Regions from separate parts of the Homo sapiens genome. Here region 1 is linked to region 2. The links are contacts of gene promoters, found by promoter capture Hi-C in blood cells and fetal thymus (Javierre and others, 2016). All regions are on one chromosome and are shown on one strand. Each heading gives the region's core, a stretch centred on a gene start or on the middle of the fragment in contact. The rest is flanking DNA. Distances are from core to core; before and after follow the strand shown. Region 1 has its middle 170 kb from the start of SNX13. Region 2 holds the start of SNX13 (sorting nexin 13).

Evidence for each region. The method cuts DNA at HindIII sites, captures the fragments that hold promoters and counts their contacts. A CHiCAGO score of 5 or more calls a contact.
Region 1: a fragment that was not itself captured here is called in contact with the fragment with the promoter of SNX13 in region 2 in 2 of 17 cell types (megakaryocytes and M1 macrophages); the score reaches 5.9 in megakaryocytes.

What each region holds. Positions count from the first base shown.
Region 1 is chr7:17,768,561-17,775,271 of GRCh38, forward strand. No RefSeq gene overlaps it. Among named protein-coding and RNA genes, the nearest start is that of SNX13, 170 kb to the right of the region's middle. The HindIII fragment of the contact is 195 bases long and covers 1,723-1,917 here.
Region 2 is chr7:17,938,606-17,945,404 of GRCh38, forward strand. It overlaps SNX13 (sorting nexin 13), which reads right to left and starts at 1,889. Exons shown (of 26, transcript NM_015132.5): 1 at 1,679-1,889. The coding sequence starts at 1,690. The HindIII fragment of the contact is 12,825 bases long and covers 1-6,799 here.

The sequences.
Region 1 (6,711 bases), core at 570-3,069, 170 kb before region 2:
CACCATTTTACATTCCCATCAGTTTTGTATTTCTCCATGTCTTTATCTTTTTTATTAATGTCATTCTAGTGAATATGAGGTACTAACTCATTGTGGCTTTGGTTTTTATTTCCCTAATGACTAATGATGTTGAACTTCTTTTTCACACGCTATTTGTAAATCTTATTTGGAGGAATGTTTATTCAGATCCTTTGTCCATCTTTTAATTAAATAGTTTGCCTTTTTATTATTAGGTTGTAAGAGTTCTTTATACAGTCTTTATATATATATATATTTAGAAATTCTGGTTACAAGTCTCTTAACGGATATATAATCTACAAATATTTTCTCCCTGTGGGTTGTTTTTTCACTTTCTAGATAGTGCTCTTTGAAACACAAAATTTTTAATTTTAATTTTGATAAAGTCTAATGTATCTATTTTTTTCTTTGGTTCTTTGTGTTTTTGGTGTCACATGTAAGAAGCTATTGCTTAATCAAAATTTATTAATATTTACTCCTATGTTTTACAGCAGGGGCCCCCAATCCCTGGGCCATCAACGGTACTGGTCTGTGGCCTGTTAGGAACCAGGCTGTGCAGCAGGAGGTGAGCAGTGGGTGAGCAAGCATTATCACCTGAACTCCACTTTCTGTTTGTTTGTTTGTTTGTTTTGTTTTTTGAAACAAAGTCTCACTGTGTTGCCCAGGCTGGACTGCAGTGGTGCGATCTTGGCTCACTGCAACCTCTGCCTCCCAGGTTCAAGTGATTCTCATGCCTCAGGCTGCCAAGTAGCTGGGATTACAGGCGCACGCCACCACACCGGGCTAATTTTCATATTTTTAGTAGAGACAGGGTTTCGCCATGTTGGTCAGGCTGGTCTCAAAGTCCTGGCCTCAGGTGATCCGCCCACCTCGGCCTCCCAAAGTGCTGGGATTACAGGTGTGAGCCACCGCACCTGGCCTCGCATTCTGTAAGATTAGCAGTGGCATTAGATTCTCATAGGAGCATGAATCCTGTTGTGAACTGTGCATGTGAGGGATCTAGGTTGTGCTCCTTATGAGAGTCTGACTAATGCCCAATGATCAGAGGTGGAACACTTTCATCTCAAAACCATCCCACTCGCAGCCATTTGTGGAAAAGTTGTCTTCCACGTAAACAGTCACTGGTGCCAAAAAGGTTGGGGACCACTGTCCTATGAGATTTTGGTGAAGATTAACTGGGATAATGTATGTAAATTCTGGGCATGTAACTATCAGTGGGAAGTAATATCTTATATTGTCATTCAGACAATTCCTCCAGGCTTCCACCTCCACCCTCATCTAATTTCTCTGGTTTCCACCTCTACCATACCCTCTGGATTTGCCCCTTGGTTGGACTGGCTCTGGCTTTGATTTCAGACTCTTCCTAAAACACTGCTTCTGCATACCTCATGACCTTTAGTTTCAAGCAAGTGATGTTGACAGTTGCTCAGCTCAGGTTCTGGACTGTCCAGGAGGGGGCATCAGACAACAAGAAGAGAAGTCCCTAGAAAAGACAGCTTTAATCAAATAATACTGCCATTCATTGAAAACCTGCTGCGTGGCTTCCTCTTTATGGGCATTATCTCTATTCTCTAGAATAACTGTGGGAATAGAGTACAGTATTACCACCATGATATAAAAGAGGAAACTGATTTTCTAAGTTTAATAACTTTCCCAACATTTCCCAGTTTAGTAATTGATGGGCTGGGATTTGACTGACTATAAAGCTTGTACTATTTCTTTTATACCACCAATCTCGATCTCACAGGGCTACAAAAAATCTTGAAGCAAGCATTAGAACTTCCCTCTATCTTTAGTAGCTCTAAATGACGTAAAAATGTGTTTAGAGAGCATTAAAATGTGTTTAACAAAATGTGTTAAGAGAATATGTCCTGGACTTAGGGGACAAACTAGAAATCAAGCTTCCAGACCTCAGGACCTACAGTATAAATTAGAATGCAAAACACTAACAAGCAACATACCCAGAAGGTAGTTATGAAGTAATAATGACTTGATAAAGTTAACATCATACATTCTGATACTTCATTGAAATTTTCTTCCCTGGGCTGGTCTATGATGTTTTTAAATATCTAAACTATGGCTTAACGTCCATGAAGCTTGAACCTGATCAATTTCTCTAAGGCACTATAGTTACAGTTTGAGTATCGTTCACCCAGGGGATAGTATTATTTTCTCAAAATGTCTTCTGGGTCTATCTGCAGCAGAATCTCCTGCTATACTTAATAAAATTCACGTTTCAAAGCCACTCCTTTCATTTACTGATGTCTACGCTGGTGACTGACATGCTGCATTTTTAAGCAGCTGTTCATTAAACAGCAAGAAACAGTTATTGCCTCACCATTGGACTTCCCTTTTTGCCATTAAGAGACAGCATCTGCCCTTTAAGTTCTGCCTCTCTTACCATGAGTCCTAAACATTATAAAAGCAGAAGTTTATAAAGTTAGTCCAATTTCTACCATTTGGCACATAGTGGTAATAACAGCTAACACTTTCAGAGGACTTACTGTGCTCCAGGTACTAGTCTAAGTCCTTTACCTACATATTAGCACCCTGAATCCTCACAACTGTCTCCTGTTGTTGATTCTATTAACTTCAAATCTCTTATACAAATGAGGAAACAGACAGGTTAAGACTTGCCCAAGGTTAAGTAGCTTGAAATTGACAGAGCCAAAACTCGAACCCACAGGCAACCAGATTTCAGAGTCTAAGCTTTTGAACATTATAATTCTTCTTTTTGAAAAATGATTTAATGGCAGAAGATTTGGAAAAACAAACTCATATATTCATCACTAGGGGAATGGTTAAAGAAATTATGATTCCCCCAATGAAACGCAGCTGTGAAAAACTAAGAAGCTTTCACTGAGCTGAAAGGCAAGGGTCAGAATGTGTATAATATGCTGACTTTATGTTTAAAATAAATCTTTTTTCAAATTGAATTTTGGATCTGTATGTATTAGGAATTTAGTCTTTGTTACATGAGTTAAAAAATTTTCCCAATTTTTCATTTAACTTTTTAGGTACTTATGGTATAATTTACTATGCAAAAGTTATCTTTAATTTTATGTACTTGCGTTATTTATTTCATGGTTTTTGGATTTTGAGTCATCATTAGACCTTCTCCACTTCAAGGATAAAAAGTAATTATCCTAATACTTTCTTCTGGTGCTTTCAGGATTTCTTTCTAAATGTGTGATTTTTAATGTATTTTAAGTTTACTGTGATACACAGGTAAGGTATGAACAAGCTCATTATTTGTCGCAACATCCATTATTAAATTGCCCTCTTTGCCCCACTAATTTCAGATGTCCTTCTATCATGAAGTGAATTTTCTTATGTATTTTGAATTATTTCTGGGCTTATTTTGTCCCTTTGGGTACTAAGTTTTTAGTTTATGAGGCAGCCAGATCCATTTATTTTTGCACTCAAGTATTATTTTAGTCCTGGAGATAAATTTATGGTCTGTTTAATGTACCATGTTATTGCTGACATCCCTTATCGTCCTGGGGAAGTTACAGAAATAATGAACAGTAGTTTTACAGTGATGGCTTCAGCAGAAAACAGATCTAGAGAAGCACTGTCCCTGAGGATAGCGCACTGAGCCCCACACCTGCTGAGATTTTCAAATTCGTATCATTCTGTCTGCTCAACTCTGCAACTACCTTTCATCTTCCTTTGGAAAGCAGCAGGACTGAGGATTAAGGTTAAATTCCCATTGTCTGTGGTCCAAAGAGAAAGCATACTACCACTGTCTGTTCATATTATTGCCATTGTGTTAAAGTGCAGAACCAAAAGCAAACTTTCTAATTTTTCATACTCCTAGCTTGGTGTGTGTGCCTGCTGTTGGCACCCAGGATCTGCCTATATTCCCTAGAAAGCATATCAAAACAGCAGCTTGACTCTCCTGAGAATGGAGAGGTGGACTGGCACAAATTCAATGGAGTATGGCGAGAATGTCACAGGAGCTACTCCAACCAAAATTCCTTTTCATATTGCAAAGCTCCTACATGGGCCACTCTGAGCCAATGTCCCTCTAAGTCCCCTTGAAAGCACTGTTTGAATAGGATAAACTTCCTGACAGTGTTTGAACTTTGCAGACTCCCTATCAGACTCACAGTCTCAAGTTAGCAGCTCACAGTGGATAAGGCGGTGTGAGCGCTAGACCTCAAGGCCTGAATATGATTTGGCCAGTGCTCTTGGCTCAATCCCTGCTCCATGTTAAGCTGCAATAACCACAGCTGGAAAGTGTGTTTGTGCCCTCTAGGTCTGAACAGCTGGAAGAAGGGGGGCCCCCCCCGACACAAATTAAATTAGGAGGTGTAAAATGCTGTGGGAAGAAAAACAAACCAAGATGACAAAAGCAGGTGCCAAAAGGCGTTTGTTCACAACCCCCATCACAGTTTCATTTTTATGTGTATGATTAGCAGCTCAGCTGCCTTAGGGCACATTTCATACTTCTTTGATCTTTTAATGTCTTGAAAAGAAAAAGAAACAGCACCTGCTGATGAAAGATATTCCAAGAGAATAGCAGGCTCTGTTCTCCAACAATCTCAAAAGCTTAACTATCCTACTCTGTGGACAGTTTTAAAGACTGTGTATTTTAGAAACCAATCTCTTCAAGAACTAGCTGAACAGTATAAAACAACTGTCCTTTTATTGTTATTTTCCAATTTATTGCCAGAGGATTATCTGTTAATGAGCCTTAGCTTATTAGAAAGACTTAAGGAAGCTAGAAACTTTCACCACAATAGCACTGATTGGTTTGTCATAGTCTGAAGTAACTCTCTTGTACTAGATGATTCATAAATTCTAAATAGGAGACCAAAGGGGCAGCAGTTCTAAAGAGAGCAGCCACACAACCCCATTGCACAATAAGCTTTGTCAGCACAGCCTGTAGATAAACACTGGGTTGCAATATAGCCACGAATGACCGGTTCTCTCCCTTGTTCATCCATCCTGGGAGACCTACAGGTGCCTTAAATTCTCCCTAAATTGTTCCAGAAGACATCGCCTGTGTCCCTTAGCCCGGTCTTCTTGACTACTCTTTAGGTTTCAGCCTTTTTTTTTTTTTTTTTTTTTTTAACTCTCATCTGCTCAGTTTTGTGCTGATTAATGCCTGTAAAGGTACCACCATGGCTGCTAAGGCCCTCACTCTCACATTTCTGTGCCCAGATTGTAAAGCCCTAAGTTCCATGCCAAGCTCCTGACACCTTGTGCTCTCAATGTCCTAGATTTATTCATTTTCGATCTTATCTTTCATTATACTCTTTACTTTCAGACTCATAGCAGAAACAGGACTTGAGGACCATCTAAATGAGTGATAGACATCCCACCCCTTCCTTCCTGACCTACCATTCTTTAACCCTCTTCCAATACAGTGCATTCCATCCCAAGTTTCTCAGTCCCTCATGCCAGTGGTACCTGGCCAGCCTGTGGCATCAGTCCTCTAGATTTGCCTTAGTCTTGGGACAAACTTACGTAGGTCTTCCTTCTAGTAAAACATTGAGATAAAACAACTTTGCAACTGTTATTTCTTCTTGAAATTAGCATTCTGAACGTATCATCCTTAAAGGTATGAATCAATAGTTTCATCTCTGATAAATATTAGAAGTCATCTGAATTTCTTTCCAAGTCATTGGAGGGGAGCAAGAATTAATAAGACAAAGAAAATGAATTCATGCTTGTCACTTTATAGAAACAGACCCACTAATTGATACGAATCAATAATGCCTTGCATGTCCTATGTCCAGTTTTCAAGGAGTCATCCACTTAATAGTGTTATGTACTCAGAGCTCCCACATTCATCAATCAGTCAACCACATATGCTCACATCTCATGAGCCACTGCTTTTGCTGTCCTAACCACTTGCTCCCATTGTGACTCACAGTCCAGTCTCTCTGCTTGCAAACTTGGCTTTCCACCCAGTGGCTCTCTTCTCTCACTATTTGGAGGCAGAACTACAGAGTGATTAAGAGCAACTTGGAATTCTGGTGCCAAGTGTCAACGGTGTGGCTGTGCACAGATGATGTACCCTGCCCCTGTAACTGAGTCTCTCCAGCTATAGAATGGAGGCAATAATAATAATACTTAAATCTTTGGGGGTTTTCAAAGGATTTAAAGCACTTCAAATGTCAAGCACTAATTGTTAGCTAGGATTGCTATTATTCAGGGAAAGGCATGTCACCCATCAATAAAGAATAGCCTCAAGAATCAAACTCTGAAGGGCCACTCTGAAGTGGAGAGTTAGAAGACAGAATGTAAAAGTGCCTAATTATTTTTTATAAGTTGTAAGCTGACTCGTGGCAAGCTTATCTCCATGACTGCAGCCCAAAAGAAGTAAGTAACTCCATAAATGGAAGGCTATATCATTGCACTTCACAGCACCAAGACCAACGGATGGGCTCTAAATACCAGCTGGCAGATGAACTAAAGAAACAGAAACTAATTTTTTTTTAAACTCTAATTTGATGCTGTTTTATTTATATAAGAAAATCCTCAATGTAATTTGCAAGCTCAGCAATAATTCAAGAAATATAAATAGCTCTGCAAAAGAATGTGTGAACATCATTTAGAAAGCTTAACTTCTAATGAGTGAAAAGTTTCCTAAGAAAAACAAATGACTTAGGCTAACAGGAAAATAACTCCTAAAGCAACACATCCAAGGAGAAGAGCCAGGATCCAGAACCTCACTGGGTC
Region 2 (6,799 bases), core at 639-3,138:
AATATTATCATTGATTTACTGTTTAAAATATTTCCCTAAAACGCAAAATTGCATTAAAATACAGAAGCTGAGAAAGCTCCATCTTTCCAAATCATTTTACTGGCAGACACACAAGTAGTTCATTTGAAAGTATTAAAACTCTGAAACATGTTAACATAAGCTAAGTTTAAGGAAAAGATCATATCATATAATATTACACATTAGAGACAACACTAAACACTTATTATAAGGCTAACTGTTCCCACTAAAATATCACACTTAAGGTAAAAATGAAACTTCTGCTACTTATAACTCTTTTTTCTAATCTATTACTGCTAATCACAACACAAACTTATGCTATAACCATAATCTCAATTAACTCCAAGAATGAAAAATCTGTAGAATTTAGAAATATAAAATGAACTTCAAACAACTAAAAATACGTACTGTAGAAGTTACAATCAACCAGTAAGTATTTATCATATGCCAGGCTCTGTGCTTAGATTAAGTACAAACAGCAAAGTATAAAGTTCCTCAAAGTTAGTCACGTTCCAAGGACCTGAAATTTCAGGCAAGTACGTGCTTTACCATCACTTTTCACAAAATAAAAGCCACTCACCTACAAATGTTTGTATTTCCTTTTTGGCCCATGTAGGAATACTTCCCATTGCCCACTAAAACTGTTTCCTATTCAGTTCAGCCCATAAAAATGCCCAATCCGGTCAGTTCCTCACGTCAGGATCCTCACAGTACTTAAAGTGAAAGGCTTCGAAAAAGGTATTTCATCAAATCACAAGGTTCAGTATTTTATGTTCAGTGACACCTACACCTGCAGATACTACAACACATAACTGGGCTAACCTGGGTCAAGTACCTAGTTGCACCGATTTAGTTCTTCCCCTTAAAGTGTTGCTAGTAAAGGCAAACTCTACTTCTTCAAAAAGTCGGCTTTTTGCAATGCCCATTAGGCACTAGAAAAGGGAAATTGATTGGTTCGTCATAGTTGCCCTACTTCCATTTCAGGTCCAAAGAAAAAAACTATTCCATAGGGAGTAACAAGGGGGCCACACGCAAATCAAGGTGGCAGATGCTAAACTGAACTTTGTGATGACCACGATTTAACCGAAAAGGTGATGGATGTGGGGGAGGGGGATGACCCAACTGAGCCATACATGTGCAGCTTGAGATAAAAAAGTCCACTTCATGAAGCAGTCAAAGTAGAGGGTGGGAAACAAACCGGTCGGGCCGAGCAACAACCCCAGGGTGCTGACCGAGCTCGGAGGCGGAGGGCCCTGGAGCCCAGGGACCAGAGAAAGGAGACCTAGGGCAAACCATAGGATCACAAGAACCAGCAGTAACGTGGAAAGGCCAACGCTGCCACAGAGTAGCGTGTAAGGGGACACGAAGAAGGGAGCGATGAGTTAGAAGGGAGTGACAGCAGGAGGGAGACCAGTGCCAGGGGCGAGTGGCAAGTGGCAACTGCGAAAGGCGAGGCACTGGCAGCCGGAGGTGGTGGGACTCTGTTGAGTCAGCACAGCTCCTACTCTGAGGGCACTTGTAGGATCCCCGCTGCTCCTCGGGCCCTGGAGCCCACGGCGAAGGGTCAGGCCCACCTTCCGTACAGATGATGTTCTCTGACGGGCTGGCGCCGGCCCCTTCCCCATTTCACAGGTAAACACTGGCCACCGTCGCCGCTTACCTCAGTTAACATTATTACACCCCGGGGAAGTGAGGTCCTCCCTAGCCTCGCCTCATGGCAACAGCCGTAGCAGCAGCGAAAACTGCTCGGGCCGCCGCCAACGGCGGCAACTGCTCCTTCAGTCTTCTCCCGGGCGGCGGTTTTACTCGGCTTCGCTGGCCTCCCCTCGGCCCGGTCGCTCGCGACGGACGCGCCGCCATCTTGGAAGAGCGACGTCCGCGTCTCGCTGCAACGTGCGTTCCCATTGGCGGGCGCAGGGGCTGCTGGCGTCTCGTGACCGTCTCCATAGCGCCGGCGCGCGGAGAAGCGGAGGTAGGCTGTCGGCAGTCGGCTTGGCGCTGACTTGTAGGACCCCGGGACCGGGCGCCTGGGCCAACTTGGGACCGCTGGGAGTGCAGAGGGGCCCCAGCGCCCGAGCCTTCCGGGAATGGACGTGCGCGCCCTTGGGGCCGGCGCATCATCCACCGCCCACTAGCGTTGGCCCGCCCTGGGGAGAGGAGAAAATGCCAGAGGCCGACACTTGACTGATGGCGCTGCGGACCTCGCTGGTCTTGGGGACAAGGCGGCAGATTTCCTTTAGAAAAACTTCCCTCTCGCGTCTCCCTGGCCCCGCGGCGACCGAAGAGTTGGGGTTCGGCTTTCTTCTCCTGGGATTTAAGTGTTATTTGAAACAGCTCCCTGCGCGGCCCTTTTCTCCTAAACTTTGACAGAAACTTCCCTTTGTCCCTACCAATCCTCAGTGAGTTCTTTACAGGGGTCCGAGACAGGTTGTAGATATGATGCGGCTTATCGGCTTTACCCCGATCCTAGCGGAGTTAGGACTTGCTGATGTAATTGGCCAGCACCTGCCTAACAATGAAGGTTTAGTTATGCTACAAGTAATGCACCTCTAAAAAAACGTAAAACAGGCTTTACGTTTTACCTGCTATCTCCACAGGTTTACTAGCTGCTTAATACAATATGCTTGTATATCAAGGTGAGCAAATTTCAGCAAATGTCATTGTAAATAGTCCCAACTTAAATGGAATTGAACTCTGGAACTCAATGTGCATAGAAGTCCCTGAGACTGACGCCATTCTAGATCTACCACTAGATGGTTTGCGATGTACGGAATTAAAGGCAGTCACTTCTACCTGAATTGTGATGAAAGTAGTTTACCTGAACATGCTGGGAAAGTGTGCTACCCTGTTTTGTATTAGAAACCAGTTTCCAAGTAAATTGAAAAGCAAATTTTCAGACTTGACATTAAAAACACCTCCATGTCATTCTTACAAGAGGTACAAAAGCATTTTAGAAAACTAAAGCCAGGAGTTTCTTCCCTTTTACCAGAATCTTTTCCCTCCATTTAACAATAGTACTGTTGTGCTAAATGAAATTTACTTAATGTATTACTCTTACAGTCTCAAAACAATAAGGGCATTGCAAACCTTGTATTATCTCTATCGTGTCAAGGAAACAAAACGGTTCATTTAAGCAGTCATGCAAAAAATTCAAGAAAAACTGATTTTGCTCAATTCAACTAATTGAAGCAAAGTAGTTTTTCTTGTTGTTTTAATCTGCATTTTGTACATCATTTCCACATTGCTGGACCAGCAAAATTCTGACCTCTGCAATACAATAAAATGTGTTACTGGTATTGACAGATGAAGCCACAAATAGAAAATGAGCATGGAAATCCTACCTGGACTGAGGTATCAAAGGATACCAAGAGATACTAGAGACAACAAGGAACCTGGAAAAAGATAGTGTTCCAACCTGTAAATAAGAAAACAGAGAAGGAGGTTCATTAATATTTAAGATACCAGCTAGTAAATTAAAACAGCAATGTAGTTGTCTGGCTTGAGTATTCAGTTTTATTTACTACATCTTTTTATCTTTTCTAGAAGCAAGGCATTAAGTGTTGACACTTGAGTATTGAACCAATCTGTGATATGACATGAATATGCCTTTAACTTTCAGAAGTTTGTCTACAGACTTACAAGGAAACCAAAAGTAGTCGCTCTTCCAATGGCTTCCTAATTTTCTCAGCCTGAGTCTTTTCTGCAACCTAAAAATCCTATGCTAGCTGGCCTCCCAAGTCCTACCTCACCTCCACCCCTCTGACCTCATTTCTGCTAAGCACTTTGTTCCAGTTACACAGACCTGCTCCCTGCTTCTGTAACACCAAGGCATCTTCTTGCCCTGAGGCCCTTACACTGTGTATAGTTTCTATCTGCAAAGATCTTTCCACCAAATACCTGCATGGCTAGATCTTCCACTTCTGTCCAATCTTTGCTTAAAAGTCATCTTTTTTCAAAGAAGCCTACCCTAATCATCTCATTTAAAATATTGCCCCTTCCCCAGAATCCTCCCTTCCTTGCTTCTGTTTTTTTCATAGTACTTACCTTCTAACCTTCTAACATCGTCATTTTCTATTTTTATTTTCTATTGCCTTCCCTCCGCTAGAATGTAAGCTCCACAAGATCGGGGATTTTTTTTTTTTCATTTTGTTCAATGTTTCCTTAGTACCTAAAATACTAGAATAGTAGATGGCACAGAGTAGATGCTCAATAAATATTTCTTAAGTGAATAAATGAATGGGTGAATCATTGCCTAAAAGACACTAAAAGGAAAAGACCTAATTAAAACTATTTAAAAACAAAATCCTTGGTGTTGAAAGATTAAATTATTTAAAAGTTGGCCATTGTGTGTTCTCTTGTCTTCCAATTAATAGGAACATCACTTCTGCCACTGGAATGTTGAAGTGTATGACAATTGTTACTTCCACTAGAATGCTACAGAAAAGTTTAGGACAAAATTGTGAGCTATGCCTTTTCCTTCACCTTTTTTCTTTTCCTTTTTTTAAATTTGTTGTAGAGATGTGTTCTCACTATGTTGCCAGACTAGTCTCTGGACTCCTGGCCTCAAAGATCCTCAGGCTTTGACCTCCCAAAGTGCTGGGATTGCAGGAATGAGCCACCACACCTGGCCTCCTTCACTTTCTTAAATACATCTTGGGCATGAGTCAAAGTTAATTTCCTAGGAAGGGAAGCAACAAAGCGAATAAGGTATACTATTTAAGAGACTTACGGAAATTAAGGAGTTATATAGTTGGAAAAGAGAATGCTTATAGAAACAGCTAGCTTAAAAAAAAAAAGCACCTAATTTGATACAGATTCCATGTCTTAAAAACATCCTATTCATATCAGTTGTTACAGAGGAAACCTGGGACAGGGTGATCTGAGATGCCTGGTTCTTTGGCTATCAGAAATTAAAACAAAGCAAGCTATCGTAAGGGATGCATCTGTGACTGTTACTGCAAAAGGTTTGATTCCTCAGCAGCAGTGTCCAGTCTGTCTGATTAACACAGGAAAGCATGACAAAAAGAGGTAAGAGGCAAAAGTCAAGTGTGTTTTTTGAGACGGAGTCTCGCTCTGTCACCGAGGCTGGAGTGCAGTGGCGCTCTCTGCTCACTGCAAGCTCCGCCTCCCGAGTTCACGCCATTCTCCTGCCTCAGCCTCCCGAGTAGCTGGGACTACAGGCGCCTGCCACCATGCCCGGCTAATTTTTTTTATTTTTATTTTTTTATTTTTAGTAGAGACAGGGTTTCGCCATGTTAGCCAGGATGGTCTCCGTCTCCTAACCTTGTGATCCGCCCGCCTCCACCTCCCAAAGTGCTGGGATTACAGGCGTGAGCCACCGCGCCCGGCCGTAAGATGCTTTTAAACAAGCCACTGCCAGTGATTTCTAAACCTACAAGCAAAAATTCGGAATATCCAAGTTGCCTGTTTTTTAGTTTTGAAACAAAAACAATTTCTTCTACATATTCAGGTTGTCACAAATTGGCTCTAATTGCTTTTTGAGAAGCAGGAAAAGTATGCCTTTAACCTCCTAGGCAAATTGCATCTAGCAAACAGTTGTGTCATTTAATCTTTTGATGTCTTAAAGCATTCTATTAACTCCAGTTTCTTCATAATGCAATATTGTCAGTGTCATCTACCATCTCTACTGAACATTAAATACTATATACTCATTAACAAGGATTGGTGTCAAAACCTGCAAATTGGTATTGAAATCATGCATTGACAACAGAGGAGACATCCTAAGAACAGATAAGAGTTGGATATCCCGATTCTTTTTTACAGCTTTAATAGGGCAGTAGTAAGCAGAAATCTCAGAGCATTTAAGAGTACTCTGAAGTCTAGCCCAGCATGTACTTTTTTCTTGCATGATTCTTTTTGAGGCAATGTTGAGCCAACTCAAGACAGAAAGACAGAAGCAGAAATAATATGAGGCTTTACTAACAAATGCAGCCATAACAAAATAATAATGTACACAAATGCTTTCAATATTAGCTCCACAATGCAAAGATCTAAATAGAAAGAACCACATTATAAATTTGTAAAAGTCTATAAAATAATTAAGAGGTATTACTACATCAATGACACCTCAGTCAATCATTTTGAAAACAAAAATTTAGAGCACTTTTCAAACATTTAATTCTTAATTATGGATACTGTTTTTCAGTATCTATTATGGGCCAGGCACTGGTGGTAGACATTTTGCATGTATTATATTTAACATTTGAAAAAGACCATTACAGTAGATCACTACCCTTAGAGGCCACTAGAGGTTTAGTAATTTGCACCACATTACCTATCAAGGATTCATACTATCAACATGATTTATCACTGGTGATGTTGACCTTTATCACCTGAATGAGATAGTGTTTGTCAAGTTTCTCCACTGTAAAGTTACCATTTTCCCCCGTTCTATGCTATCCTCCTTGGATGGAAATCACTATGTGCAGCCCACACTTAAAGAGTGGGGATTTCTGCTTCTCCTTTTGCTGGTGGAATATGTAGATAAATTATGTGGCATTTTTTTTTTGCATGGGAGATTTGTCTTTTCTCCCTTTTTATTTAATCATTTATGTATATGAGTATGGACATATAAATATTTGTTTTATACTTTGAGTTATAATCTAATACTACTTTGTTGTTCAAATTGTCCCAGCTTTGGCCACTGGAGCTCTCTTAGTTGTCCTATTTCCTTTTAATATACTCCCATCAATGTGGTATGGTTTTTTGTTTGGTTAGTTTTGTTTTTAAGCACATGGTTACTTTCTAGTACTATAAGATG